Linked DNA regions of Homo sapiens: region 2 is linked to region 1. The links are contacts of gene promoters, found by promoter capture Hi-C in blood cells and fetal thymus (Javierre and others, 2016). All regions are on one chromosome and are shown on one strand. Each heading gives the region's core, a stretch centred on a gene start or on the middle of the fragment in contact. The rest is flanking DNA. Distances are from core to core; before and after follow the strand shown. Region 1 holds the start of ZBED3 (zinc finger BED-type containing 3). Region 2 has its middle 7.4 kb from the start of WDR41.

What was found. The method cuts DNA at HindIII sites, captures the fragments that hold promoters and counts their contacts. A CHiCAGO score of 5 or more calls a contact.
Region 2: a contact is called between a fragment that was not itself captured here and the fragment with the promoter of ZBED3 in region 1, in 1 of 17 cell types (naive CD8 T cells). The highest score is 5.6, in naive CD8 T cells.

What each region holds. Positions count from the first base shown.
Region 1 is chr5:77,080,734-77,088,534 of GRCh38, forward strand. ZBED3 (zinc finger BED-type containing 3) reads right to left here and starts at 6,552. Exons shown (of 3, transcript NM_032367.4): 1 at 6,378-6,552. It overlaps ZBED3-AS1 (ZBED3 antisense RNA 1), which reads left to right and starts at 5,982. Exons shown (of 3, transcript NR_182763.1): 1 at 5,982-6,886. It also overlaps a transcript of PDE8B not described here. RefSeq lists enhancers at 6,210-6,811, 6,812-7,414, 7,415-7,801 and a silencer at 6,224-6,393. The HindIII fragment of the contact is 2,300 bases long and covers 6,118-7,801 here.
Region 2 is chr5:77,496,189-77,503,295 of GRCh38, forward strand. It overlaps a transcript of WDR41 not described here. Among named protein-coding and RNA genes, the nearest start is that of WDR41, 7.4 kb to the left of the region's middle. The HindIII fragment of the contact is 3,185 bases long and covers 1-3,179 here.

The DNA.
Region 1 (7,801 bases), core at 5,302-7,801:
AGCAATGAGAACACGTGGACACAGGGTGGGGAACATCACACACAGGGGCCTGTCGTGGGGTGGCGTGGGAGGGATAGCATTAGGAGATATACCTAATGTAAATGACGAGTTAACGGGTGCAGCACACCAACATGGCACATGTATACATATGTAACAAACCTGCACGTTGTGCACATGTACCCTAGAACTTAAAGTATAAACAAAAAACAAAAAACTCGAGTGCATTTCAGCTGCCCCTGCAATGTGGAGGGGGAGAAACCTCTTCAGACACTTCAGCCACAACCGTAACACACAAAGAGCTCTTCAAACACAATAAAAAGACAAAAAGACCGACAGAAAAACAGACGAGAAATATGAGTAGGCAAATGACCTAACAGCTCCACTGGCCAGGAAATTTATGAAAAGGTGCACAACATCACTTATATTCAGGGAAATGCTATTAAAGTAGCAATAAGGTATCGTTTTACATCCATCACACCAAGAAACATTAAGAGGTCTAACAGCCAAAGTTACAAGGGAGGTAGAGAAAAGGCACACTCCTCAATTACTAGTGAAGATGGGATGGATTTTAGGAAAGCATTCTGGCCATTTCTTTTCTTTCTTTCTTTTTTTTTTTTTTTTAATTTTTTTTAAGACAGGGTCTTGCTCTGTCACCCAGGCTGGAGTGCAGTGGCACAATCATGGCTCACTGCAACCTCTGCTTCCCAGGCTCAAGAAGTGATCCTCCCACCTCAGCCTCCAAAGTAGCTGGGACTACAGGTGCATGCCACCATGCTTGGCTAATTTTTGTATTTTTTGTAGAGACAGGGTCTCTGTTGCCCAGGCTGGTCTTCCTTGAACACCTGGGCTCAAGTGATACACCTGCCTCGGCCTCCCAAAGTGCTGGGATTACAGTCGTGAGCATACCCAATGAGAATGCATGTCATTAATTCTGTGGTTAGCTAATAAGAAGAAAATGAAAAGTAAGAGATCCCTCAATTTTTCCTTGAACATTTTTTAAAACTAACACAAAGGTGCCAATGAATTTGAGTATTTTGCTTACATCCATCCACTCCATCCAACTCTCATTCAAATGCTCATTGTGCACCTGCTAAGGTCAGGTGCGTGCTTTCTGCCAAGCATTCCAAGAGGAATGTCACATAGTCTCTGCCCTCAGGAAGCGTACCATCTGGTGGGGAAAGAGATGCTTCCAACAATTCTGATACCTGTGTGATAGGGCCAGCTGCAATTTCTATATTAATTAAAAATAGAGGCTGGGCTCGGTGGCTCACGCCTGTAATCCCAACACTTTGGGAGTTCCAAGCAGGTGGATCACCTGAGGTCAGGAGTTCGAGACCAGCTTGGCCAACATGGTGAAACCCTGTCTCTACTAAAAATACAAAAATTAGCTGGGCATGGTGGCGGGTGCCTATAATCCCAGCTACTTGGGAGGCTGAGGCAGGAGAATGGCTTGATCCTGGGAGGTGGAGATTGCAGTGAGCCGAGATAGCACCATTGCATTCCAGCCTGGGTGACAACAGCGAAATGCTGTATTGAAAAAAAAAAAAAAAAGATAACCTGAGATTCTACTCCTGGGGATCTCTTCTATAGAACTATCAGCACCAATAAACACAGTCTTGTATCAGGATGTTCACGTAGAATGACATCAGAATCTACATCAGAATCATGTAGAATGACAAGAAACTGGAAGCAAGGGAATGCCTACCACCAGGAAAATGGCTGAGTATATAACATATGTTCATACCAGGGAATATTATACAGCCATTAAAGAGGAAAAGGATGAAGTTCTGTTCAATGTCTTACAAGGATATCTGGAGGAACTGTTCAGGGAGAAAAGAGAGATGCAGAAGAGTGTATAATATGATCCCACTATTATTAAGTAATATACATATCTGTAGAGGCAATATATAGCTATAGATGAAGAAAAATAAGGAGATACTATGGTTGAGGCAATGGTAACTGATGTGAAAGGAGGGAGAAGGGGAAGAGGTAAACACAAAAGTAAAAGCAATGAGGTACTAAGAAAGCATGCATGTGATCACGTGTATACATTTAGGGAAAGTGTGTATATCACAGGATCTCTACATAAATAAAAAATAATTTTATAAAACAACCCTTGGGCCTGGGTGTGGTGGCTCACACCTGTAATCCCAGCCCTTTGGGAGGCCAAGGCAGGTAGATCACCTGAGGTCAGGAGTTCAAGACCAGCCTGGCCAACATGGTGAAACCCCGTCTCTACTAAAAATACAAAAAATTAGCTAGGCGTGGTGGTGGGTGCCTGTAGTCCCAGCTACTCGGGAGGCTGAGGCAGGAGAATCGCTTGAACCTGGGAGGCGGAGGTTGCAGTGAGCCGAGATTGCACGATTGTACTCCAGCCTGGGTAGTAAGAGCGAAACTCCATCTCAGAAAAACAAAAAACAAAAACAAAAAAGCAAAACAACCCTTGGCTCCTCAAGCATGTGAGCTCAGGCAGGGCCAGCCCAGCCTTAACTGTGGAGGCTGGTGGGACAGTCCCATGGGGAAGCCCACTGCTGCGCCGCTTGGAGGAGGAAACCCAGCATGTGAGGCTGCTCATTGTCACGTGGTTTGCTGTGCTCTGCAGAAGGAGATTCTGTGTTCACACCCAGGATGTCATGGAAGAGGAGCTCATCCCATTCATCTCCCTGGCACAGGGTAGACACTTGGGGGATGCTGCATTAAGTGAAGTGAACCTGACTCTGTTTCTTTAGCCCCAGCCCACCCGAGTCTCAATCTTCCCATCTGTCAAGAGAAATAATAAGATTATTTGCCTCTAAACAGGTGGCTGAGATCATAGATAGTGCAAATGATGTCACTGTTGGACTCTCCGGTGTTATATAAATTTAAGACATGAACAATAAAGAAACTACCGATATTTACTGCTCAGACATGCCCACGTTAAGATTTTAATGGCTAAAAGGCAGTTGTTTTTCCATCTGACATTATGTTATTCAACAGAGTAAGTAGTCTAAGTTGGAGGAATCCCCTTGGGAATTGACTACAAAGAGCAAATAAAAAAGAGTAACAGATCCAAGACCCTTACCCCTTAAATTTATTTTCACTTCCTAAATTGAACTTCATGCAAAATAGGTTATTTATCACTAGGGTAAAATAAGATAATGGGGAGGTTTAATTAGCCAAAGCCCTGTGATAACGCGTTTCTTCCTTACCAAATACCCAATGAGAATGCATATCATTAATTCTGTGGTTAGCTAATAAGAAAATGAAAAAAGCTCCCTTAATTTTTCCTTGAAAAAATTTTTAAACTAACACAAAGATGCCAATGAATGAGTATTTTGCTTACATCCATTCACTCCATCCAACTCTCATTCAAATGCTCATTGTGCACCTGCTAAGGTCAGGTGCGTGCTTTCTGCCAAGCATTCCAAGAGGAACGTCACATAGTCTTTGCCCTCAGGAAGCGTACGGTCTGGTTGGGAAAGAGATGCTTCCAACAATAATTCTGATACCTGTGTGATATGGTTTGGCTGTGTCCCCACCCAAATCTCATCCTGAATCCTACTCCCATAATTCCCACGTGTTGTGGGATGGAACTGGTGAGAGATAATTGAATCACGAGCGCGGTTTCTCCCATACTGTTCTTGTGCTAGTGAATAAATCTCACGAGATCTGATGGTTTTATAAACGAGAAGCCCTTTTCGCTTGACCCTCATTATAGCTCATGCCGCAGCCAGGTAAGAAGTGCCTTTCGCCTTCCGCCTTCCGCCATGACTGTTAGGCCTCCCTAGCCACGTGGAACTTTAAGTCCATTAAACGTCTTTCTTTTATAAATTGCCCAGTCTTGGGTATGTCTTTATCAGCAGCGCGAAAACAGATTACTAACACACTGTGGTAAAGGTGAAATCAGTGCTCACTCCTTCGGGTGAATTCCGTCACATAATCTCCACTGGGGAAGGGGTGGGCATGGGCAGCTCCTGGGAGCTGATGTCTTAGGGGCCCTAACACAAAAGTTCATGCAGTTCAGCATCCCTTCCCCTCCCATGCCCCACAGGGCACAAACGCATTGTTGTCCATCACCAAAACACATTACCCTTAGTACTCGACTCTAATGAAGTTCCAGTTCCTCAGTTGTATAACGAGGCTTCCAAGCTCCTATTTTAAAAGAAAGTTTCTTGAAGCTAAATAAAAGCACTGCTAACATGAAATTAACAGTGGAAATTTTTGAGTGTAATTTCAGGGTGAAAAAAACTGAAAAGACAAATGTAGATTTTAGATATTTCAAGGAAGGAGAGAGAGTAGTGTTGCTGGTACCATGCCTCTGCACTTGCTATAGCTGAGTTTCATTTGAGTATCCATTATTTGGAAGGAGTTCTTAAATCTAAGCCTGTGGAAGACAATAAATTCACATTAATTATCTCTCCATTTGACTCAATTTCTGAAGAAGTTCTATCCTTCTGATGAACTATCAGATTAAATCCCAGATTCCTCAGTATGATGTCCCTGAATACCAATATAAAGAATAAAGGAAGAGATCAAAACCTGGATGAATAATCTGTATAAACATGGGCATATACACAAGGTATGACTATAATATTGAGACTCATCCTATAAAGCACCTACAAAAGTTGATTGTATTATTTTATACTTATGCTTGTGCACATAAAAAATATTTGGCAGGCTAAAGGCCAAAGAACCAGGCACTGTTCTCAAAAGGACATAGCAGATTAACTACACCTCTATTTGTCCTTCTATACTCAAGGCTACTTACTGTAGTTGGGTTGACCAGGCAGAGTTTAAATCAATATATGTTGGTTGAGCCTGGATCTTAGATGAGAAATTCACACTAACGTGAAATTCACACAGACATATGTGGAAACACTAAAAACATTTTCTTTTACTTCATCCACCAGTGACTTTAATGAAAGCAGAGCATAATAATTAATACAAGTAATTAGAGTTGACAACTGAAGTGTCAAGAAAACCACAGTTCATCTGTTATCCGTCCATCTCTGTTGAAATATTAGTTTACTGCCATATATTAATCTATTTATAAAGAGATCCAGACAATTAGAAAAATTAGTCTGGAATCACCAGGCTGAAGGCTTAGCTGAAGTTAAAAGACAAGTAAAAATGCCTCCAAACTGTAAAACCTGAGTTGGGGAATAAATGGTAAAATGTGTAAAAATTTAGAAAAAGGTTATATGTGGACTGTAAAAAATACACTGGACTCACAGGTAATTAAGGGGTGAATCAGAGTTGTTTCCTAAATGGCATAAGCCAAACTCTTAGATATTTCTACCATTAGCTAAAAGGCAGAGAAGCACTCTCTCTCTCTATTAATGCACTTTTAAAAATGAAAATTGTGAAGTGTTCTGCCCTTAAAGTGGACCTTTATTTCAGGTCTGCATTACTTTGCTTAATAGATATGGTCCTAAAGATTAAGGTGGTGATCCATTTTATCTTGTAAAAATGCATAATTTAATCTGAGTTATAGGAATTTAAAGCTGCCCTACTTTGAAGGCCTTTGTGACTCAAAGATTTTTTTAATTTAATTTTTAAATTGAGAATTACCTGGCTTGGGCTTTTGGTCTTTTTATAATACGTATTGCTGTCTACTTTTTTTTTTATTCTTGGCTGCCTCAAGCTATTCTTGCCTCCAAAAGGTGTCAGCATATGAATAAAAACAGCAGAAAATAATTACCCTAATTAGGTCAATGTATTAAGCTGTTTCTACAACTGTTTCTCTTAAACACCTTATCTTTGTAGTCTTGGCTCATTAGAAATTCGACTAGTGGTAAGTATTTATTTTTTTCCTTCAAGGGGGTTTTTGCTTTGCTAAGCCTCGGGCATTTGGTTCGTGCAAGAAATCACAGAAACTGCTCCAGCGGACTCCGAAAGGAGCGGAAAATTCTTTTGTTTGGGGGCCATGAGGGGTGGGGGAGGGGTGGGGATTCTGGTGTAAGCTTTTGGCTTGCATTCGCTTTCTCCCTCCGAAAGTGGGCGACATCAAGCAAGTCCCAGTTACAGAAAGAACCCACTGCAGGGCGTCCAGTCACTTGCCCAGTGAAAAGACTGTAATCAGACAACTTTAATAAAGGGAGAGCAGGAGAGTGGTGACGAATTTCCACATTCCGAACAAGCTTGTCGAAAGAGGAGTGCAGGGAAGGAGCAAGAATGAGGCACTGGAAGACGGTGAGCGGGGCCTTGCCACAGAATCCCGGGCCCACCTGCTTTCTCACAGTCGCGACAGCCGGCCCGGAGAAGGGCAGCCCAGCGAAGGGCACGCCCCGCGCGGGTGCCAGGGAGGCCGGCAGGGGCGTCCGCGGTCGCTGCTCACCTGCGCTCCCCGCTGCCCGGCCCAGCCCGCCTCGCCACCGAGTCTGGAAGCCCACACTCACCCCTTTACCCGGGAAACGCGGCCGGAGCCGGCGGCGGGTCGGGAGTCCGAGATGGTAGATCCCCCTCCAGGCGCCTCGCTGACATTTTGTCCCGGACGGAAAACCTCCGCGCGTGCCCCTTAAAGACACAGCGCTGCATTCACACGTCTGCGGGGAAAGGGGGGCCGTCACGTGTGGCCTTCGCCCGAAAGCGGTAGGGGAGTCGCTCTGAAACCGCCAAGGATCGCGAGCGACAGATTTGTGTTGGCCAGGGTTTTAAGATGACGCAATAGCTGAGTGTGGTTGAAATGTAACTATTGTTTTACAACTTTGCATTAACCTTCCAAGACCTGAATTCCCGGGCCTGAGTCTCAGAGCGCGGTTTGCATCTTTGCAGGCTGTAGGCGCATGATGTCACAAGTTATTGGAAGAAATCCCTCCAACCTAGGTTGGGACAGATGAAGGCGGCGCTTATTGGTGTTCACCAAAACACCAGCATGGTGTACCAGCTTTGGCTAGATGATGCTCAGGTAACGAACAACCCCTGCAACTCAGTGGCTTAAAGGTCCATTTCTCAAGCGAATTACTGTGGCTGCAGGGAGCTTTGGCAGTACTCCACCAGTTTTCTTCACTCCAGGCTGAAAGGTCAACTTTTCTGGGCCATGCTCCCTGCTGGGCTGGTAAACCAACTTTGAGGGAGAAGGGGGAAGTCCAGATATGTAGTGTTTGCTATTTCTATGATGTAAATGCTCCCACAATGGCCGATTTCAAGCTACAAACAGTCCAACAAGTGGCTTGCCAAGTTCCTGGAAATTTAACAATTAGCTCCTGTACATGACTGGCACAAGCTGCTTTCCAAACTCACATTCCGCATGCCTCAGTTCTGCTCACTTTCTATTGGTCAAAACTTGCTGTCAGTGGGTGGGGAAGTGTACCCCTCTCTTAAGGAAGCCTTGCAAGTCTTGTGACAATGAAACAGGAGAGTTCCCTGATTTCCTCCCGGCCCCCGCCCTCCCACAGCCCTTTGCAGGACGTGCAACAGGGTTGTGGCTCGTGTGTTCGGTCTCTGCCTGCTGAAACCCCTTATGGGAGGTGGAGCATGCAGACGGACGGGTGCAGGAGCCAGGGTGCAAAAGCTGGGGCGCTGGGCTTCCAGCCCCACGGCAGTGTCCAGGGGCAGGATCCCGTGATTCCCGGAGCCCAAATGGGCGTGTGTTACAGTGTGCTCTTTTAGCCTTACCATCAGCTGACGGCTTAAGTGTTAACCAGCTCAATAGACCCTCTGCCTTTTTGCAAGCGCAGAGGGTCAGTGTGACAGTTTCTGTATCTCAGCTCTTGTCTCACCTCCCAGAAGAATCAGGTCACACATGGACTTGAAGGATGGTGAGTGCCGGGGTGGGGGCGGGGGTAGAGGAGTTGGGGGAAGGTTGGGGGTGTTTATTAGG
Region 2 (7,107 bases), core at 337-2,836, 410 kb after region 1:
TCCCCTAAGATGAGAAACAAAAGAAAGATGTCCTCTTTGACCACTGCTCTTCAACACTGTATTGGAAGTTCTTGCCAGAGCTAGTAGACAAAAAGAAGTAAAAAGCATCCAAATTGGAAAGGAAGAGGTAAAGCTCTCTCTATTTGCAGATGATATGACCCTATATATAGAAAATCCTGAAGAATCCACAAAAAAGGTATAGAGCTAATAAATAAATTCAGCTAAGTTGCAGGGTACTAGATTAATACAAAAAAAATTAGTGTTGTTCCTACTTGCCAGCAATGAACAATCCAAAAAGAAAACTAATAAAGCAATTCCATTTACAATAGCATCTAAAATAATTAAATACATAGGAATAAATCTAACCCTGGAGGTGAAAGACTTCTATACTGAAAACAACAAAACATTGCTGAAAGAAATTAAAGAGTACCTAAATAAATAAAAAGACGTCCAAGCTCTTGGATAGAAAGACAACATTGTTAAGATATAAATACTTCCCAAAGCAATCTCCAGATTCAATGCAATCTCTATCAAAATTTCAATAATCTTGTTCCTAAAAATGGAAAAATAATCCTCAAATTTATATGGAATTGCAAGGGGTCCCAAATAGCCAAAATAATCTTGAAAAAGAAAATAAGGTTGGAGGACTCACACTTCCCAACTGTGGAACTTACCACGAAGTTAAAGTAATAGTACTGGCACAAGGACAGACATGTAGACCAATGGAATAGAACAGAGAGCCTAGAGATAAACTCTTACATATATGGTCAATTTTTTTGACAAGTGTACTAAGACCATCCAATGGGGAAAGGACAGTCTTTTCAACAATTGGTACTAGGAAAACTGGATCTCTACACATAAAAGAATGAACTTGGATCCTTATCTTATACCATACACAAATGTTAACTTAAAATAGTCAAATACCTAAACTTAAAAGCTAAGTTGTAAAACTCTTAGAAGAAAAAAAATTGGAGGAGAAAATATTCATCACATTAAATTTGGCAAAATTTAGTGGCGGTGACACCAAATGCACAGGCAACAAAAGAAAAAATAAACCAATTTGACTTCATCAAAATTAAGAACTTTCATGCGTCAAAGGATACTACCAAGAAAATGAAAACCTACAGAATGGAAGAAAATATTTGCAAATCATACATCTGATAAGGAAGTGATACCTGTAATATATAAACATCTCCTACAACTCAACAACAACAACAACATAAAACAACCCTATTAAAACTGGGCAAAGGACTTGAGTAGACATTTCTCCAAGGAAGGTATATGAATGGTCATTAAGCACCTGAAAAGAAGCTCAACATAATTAGTCATTAGAAAAATGCAAATCAAAACCACAATGGCATGCCATTTCACACATACTAGGATGCCTATAATTTTTTTAAGCTGGAAAATAAATGTTGATAGGGATATGGAGAAATTGGAGTCCTTGTGCATCGTTAATAGAAATGTAAAATGGAGCAGCCACTGTGAAAAATCGTTTAGCAACCCTCGAAAGTTAAACATACAACTACCATATGACCCAGCAAGTCCACCTCTAGGCATATATCTACAGGAAATGAAAGCAAGGACTCAACAGATATTTGGGCCAATGTTGACATCAGCACTATTCACAATAGCCAAAAGCCGGAGACATCCCAAGTGTCCATCCACAGATGAATGGATAAATAAAATGTGATGTATGCATATAATGAAATATTATTTAGTCATAAAGGAATTAATTTTTAAATATATTCTACAACATAGATGGGCCTTGAAAACATATGTTAAGTGAAATAAACCAAACACAGTAGAATAAATATTGTATGATTCCACTATTATGAAATACTTAGAATAGGTAAATTCATAGAGACAGAAAATAGAACAGAGGTTACCAGGGATGGGAGAGGGGGAAATAGGGAGTTATTATTGAATGAGTACAGAGTTTATGTTGAGACCAATGAAAAACATTTGTATATAGTGGTGATGATTATACAATATTGTGAATGTACTTAATGTCACTGAATTGTACAATTACAAATGGTTAAAATGACAAATATGTTAGTATATTTTACCACAATAAAAGAGATAAATAGATCAATGGGACAGAATAGAGTACCAAAATAAAGCCACATATATATGGATAACTGATTTTTTTACAGAAGTGTAAAGGCAGTCAGTGTAGAAAAGACTATTGAAAAAGTCTTTTTGTTAATTGTGCTAGACAATTTGACATCCATATCCAAATAAATGTACTTCAATTTATATCTCATTCCATAAGCAAAATACAGGATTAATCATAGGCATAAATGTAAAACCTAAATCTATAAAACTTCTAAAATAAAACATGGAGAGGCCAGTCATGGTGTCTCAAGCCTATAATCCCAGCGCTTTGGGAGGCTGAGGTAGGAGGATTGCTTGAGCCCAGGAGTTCAAGACCAGATTGGGCAACATAGCGAGACCTCATATCTATAAAAAGTTTTAAAATTAACCGAGCATGGTGGCAGGTGCCTGTGGTTCCAGTAACTCAGGAGGCTGAGGCAAGAGGATCACTTAAGCTCAGGAGCTAGAGGCTGCAGGAAGCTATGTTCATGCCACTGTACTTCAGCCTGGGTGACAGAGTAAGACCCCATCAAAAAAAAAAAAAGAAAAAAGAAAAAGAAAAAAAGAAAAAACCATTGTGACTTTTTAAAGATTTTATCTCAAAAGTACAATCCATAAAAGAAAAAATTGATAAATTGTACTACATCAAAATTAACACTTCTGTTCTTTAAAAGACACTGTTAAGAGAATAAAAAATAAGCAATAGACTAGGGAAAATATTTGCAAATTAGGTAGGTGAAAAAGGACTTCTCTCCAGAATATATAAAGAACCCTGAAAACTTAATAAAAGTCCAGTTCTGAGTGAGATAGGATAAATACACGTCACTCTTTCTCTCCAATTGAACACAACTATAAACCTTGAACAAAATAGATGACGTAACTCTTTAAGGACTCTGAAAAAGGAGGAATGGGGAAGAATACCAGAATTCAAATTACCAGCAAGTCAGCATTTCTTTTTTCTTCAGCAGCTTCCCCAGCCTGAATCCAATGCAACCTCAAATCTGGAAAGGAGCACTGTGGTGCAGAAAGAGAAAGGTGTACCTTCTAGTTGTGGCTGAAACTGCAGGAAGAGGAACTCCCAAAGCTTAGAGAGAATGCAGGAATCCTCTGGGTCTTTTCCTCTCCTTTTTGTCCATTCTCTTATGCCTCAGACTCCAAAATATCCCACAGTAATGGTGGCAGCTGTTACAGTGGCTACCAACAGGAGACTGCAGGAGCCAAAACTCTAAGGGAAGGGAGACTTCCTCTCCATTCGGTAGAGCTCATGCTGCAAAAGAGTGCATCCAAACCCAGACCTGTTTTTTCCCATCTTTCTACCCTTCCACTAACTGGCACCAGAGGTGGAGCAATTACGAAAGGGGGTGGTTTCCAAAAAGGGAAACCCCAAGGAAACAGAAAGTACCAGAGAGATAGTGGAAATAGAAGAGTTCAGGAAAGCAACCCCAATTACTTTTATATGAACATGTAGGCACACCTTCCTTATCTTCATATGCAAGGCTCTTAATCTAATTAGTGTAAACTGAGTTAATAGAATTCTGCCTGGGCCCGAGACTAATTACTAGATGGGACAAATACAGATAACACTGTAAAGGCATTAAAACTGAACAAACATTAGAGCCACAGCTCACAGAAGGTGAGTTACAACTTGTGCCTAACCTAGTCAGGTTAATTGCTTGTTAAAAAAAAATACCAACAGTCTCCACAGGACTTAAAACCAAGTTTCATAGTGTCATATTCCAAAGGTCTAGGAGTATAAGCCCAAATTACTTGGCATATGGAGAAACACAAAAGTCTTAGCTCACATGGAAAAATATAATCAACGGTTGCCAATGACAAAACTACAGATGTTGGAATTACCTGACGAAGACTTTAAAACATATTATAAAAATGCTGGCATGGCAATTATAAACACTCTTGAAACAAACATTAAAACACAATGTATCAGCAAAGAAATAGAACATATAAAATAGAAAGAACCAAATGAAAAATTTTACATTTAACATACAATAACCAAAATTTAAAACTCAGTGGATGAACTAATAGCAGAATGGAGAGGACAGAGGCAAGAGTCAGTGAACTTAAATGGAGAAAATCAATAAAACCAAAAGCTGGTGTTTAAAAAGATCAGTGAAATTAATAAGCCACTAGCAAGACTGACAAAGAAAAAAAATAAAAGATAAAAATTAGCAGTATAAGGAATGAAAGCAGGGATATTACTGTAGGCCCCACAGACATTAAAGGGATAATAAGAGAGTATTATAAATAACCCTACACACAAAAATTTAACAACTGATGAAATGGAGTGATTTCTCAAATATCACAAATTACCAAAATCTGTTCAAGCTCAAATAGGTAACCTAAGTAGTCCCATAACCATTTACAAAATTGAATTCATAGTTTAAAATGTTCTTAAAAAGAAATCTTAGGGTTCAGATACCAAATCATAATGAAAATCCCAGAGGATTTCCTGTAGATAGACAAGCTGCTTCTAATAGGTATAAAGAAGGGCAGACGAACTAGAATGTGCTGTGAGACATTACATTAAAAACCAAAAAAGATACTAAAAACTTTAAAATTTGAATCTTGTAGTCCCTGCTCTCAAGAAACATATTTCAGGAGGTTCCAAGATGGACAAATAGGAGCAGTTCCGGTCTGCAGCTCCCAGCGTGATTGACACAGAAGATGGGTGATTTCTGCATTTCCAAATGAGGTACCTGGTTCATCTCATTGGGACTGCTTGGACAGTGGGCACAACCCATGTAGGGCAAGCCTAAGCAGGGCGAGGCGTTGCCTCACCCAGGAAGTGCAAGGGGTTGCAGGATTTCTGTTTCCTAGCCAAGGGAAGCCGTGACAGACTGTACCTGGAAAAACAGGACACTTCTGCCCAAATACTGCGCTTTTCCCAAGGTCTTAGCCACTGGCAGACCAGGAGATTCTCTCCCATTTCTGGCTCAGCGGGCCCCACACCCACAGGGCCTTGCTCACTGCTAGTGTAGCTGTCTGAGATTGAACTGCAAGGCGGCAGCCTGGCTTGGAGAGGAGCATCCACCATTGCTGAGGCTTGAGTAGGTAAACAAAGCAGCCGGGAAGCTCGAACTGGGCAGAGCCCGCCGCAGCTCAGCAAGGCCTACTGCCTCTATAGACTCCACCTCTGCGGGCAGGGCATAGCTGAACAAAAGTCAGCAGACAACTTCTGCAGACTTAAATGTCCCTGTCTGACAGCTCTGAAGAGAGCAGTGGTTCTCCCAGCACAGCGTTTGAGCTCTGAGAACAGACAGACTGTCTCCTCAAGTGGGTCCCTGACCCCTATGTAGCCTAACTGGGAGACACCTCCCAGTAGGGGCTGACAGACACCTCATATAGGTGGATGCCCCTCTGGGACAAAGCTTCCAGAGGAAGGATCAGGCAGCAATATTTGCTGTTCTGCAGCCTCTGCTTGTGATACCAAGGCAAACAGGGTCTGGAGTGGACCTCCAGCAAACTCCAACAGACCTGCAGCTGAGGGTCCTGACTGTTAGAATGAAAGCTAACAAACAGAAAGGAATAGCATCAACATCAAAAAGGACATCTACACCCCATTGGTAGGTCACCAACATCAAAGAGCAAAGGTAGATTAAAACCACAAAGATGGAGAGAAATCAGAGCAGAAAAACTGAAAATTCTAAACACCAGAGTACCTCTTCTCCATCACAGCTCCTCGCCACCAATCAAACAAAGCTGCATGGAGAATGACTTTGATGAGTTGACAGAAATAGGCTTCAGAAAGTTGGTAATAACAAACTCCTCTGAGCTAAAGGAGCATGTTCAAACCCACCACAAGGAAGCTAAAAACCTTGAAGAAAGGTTAGATGAATGGCTAACTAGAATAAACAGTATAGAGAAGATCTTAAATGACCTGATGGAGCTGAAAACCATAGCATGAAAACTTCGTGACACATACACAAGCTTCAATAGCCAATTCAATCAAATGGAAGAAAGGGTATTAGTGATTGAAGATCAAATTAATGAAATAAAGTGAGAAGAAAAGGTTAGAGAAAAAAAAGTAAAAAGAAATGACCAAAGCCTCCGAGAAATATGGGACTATGTGAAAAGACCAAATCTACGTTTGATAGGTGTACCTGAAAGTGATCGGGAGAATGCAACCAAGTTGGAAAACACTCTTCAGGATATTATCCAGGAGAACATCCCCAACCTAGCAAGGCAGGCTAACATTCAAATTCAGAAAAATAGATAACACCACAAAGATACTCCTCAAGAAGAGCAACCCCAAGACACATAATTATCAGATTCACCAAGGTTGAAATGAATGAAAAAATGTTAAGGGCAGCCAGAGAGAAAGGTCCAGTTACCCACAAAGGGAAGCCCATCAGACTGACAGCGGATCACTCGGGAGAAACCCTATAAGCCAGAAGAGAGCGGGGGCTGATATTCAACATTCTTAAAATAATTTTCAACCCAGAATTTCATACCCAGCCAAACTAAGCTTCATAAGTGAAGGAGAAATAAAATCCCTTACAGACAGGCAAATGCTGAGAGATTTTGTCACCACCAGGCCTGCCTTACAAGAGCTCCTGAAGGAAGCACTAAACATGGAAATAAACAACCAGTACCAGCCAGCGCAAAAACATGCCAAATTGTAAAGACCATCAATGCTATGAAGAAACTGCATCAATTAACGGGAAAAATAACCAGCTAACATCATAATGATGGATCATATTCACACATAACAATATTAACCTTAAATGTAAACAGGCCAAATGCCCAAATTAAAAAACACAGACCGGCAAATTGGATAGAGTCAAGACCCATCAGTGTGCTATATTCAGGAGACCTATCTCACCTGCAGAGACACACATAGGCTCAAAATAAAGGGATGGAGGAAGATCTACCAAGCAAATGGAAAGCAAAAAAAAAAAAAAAAAAAAGCAGGAGTTGCCATCCTAGTCTCTGATAAAACAGACTTTAAACCAACAAAGATCAAGAGAGACAAGGAAGGCCATTACATAATGG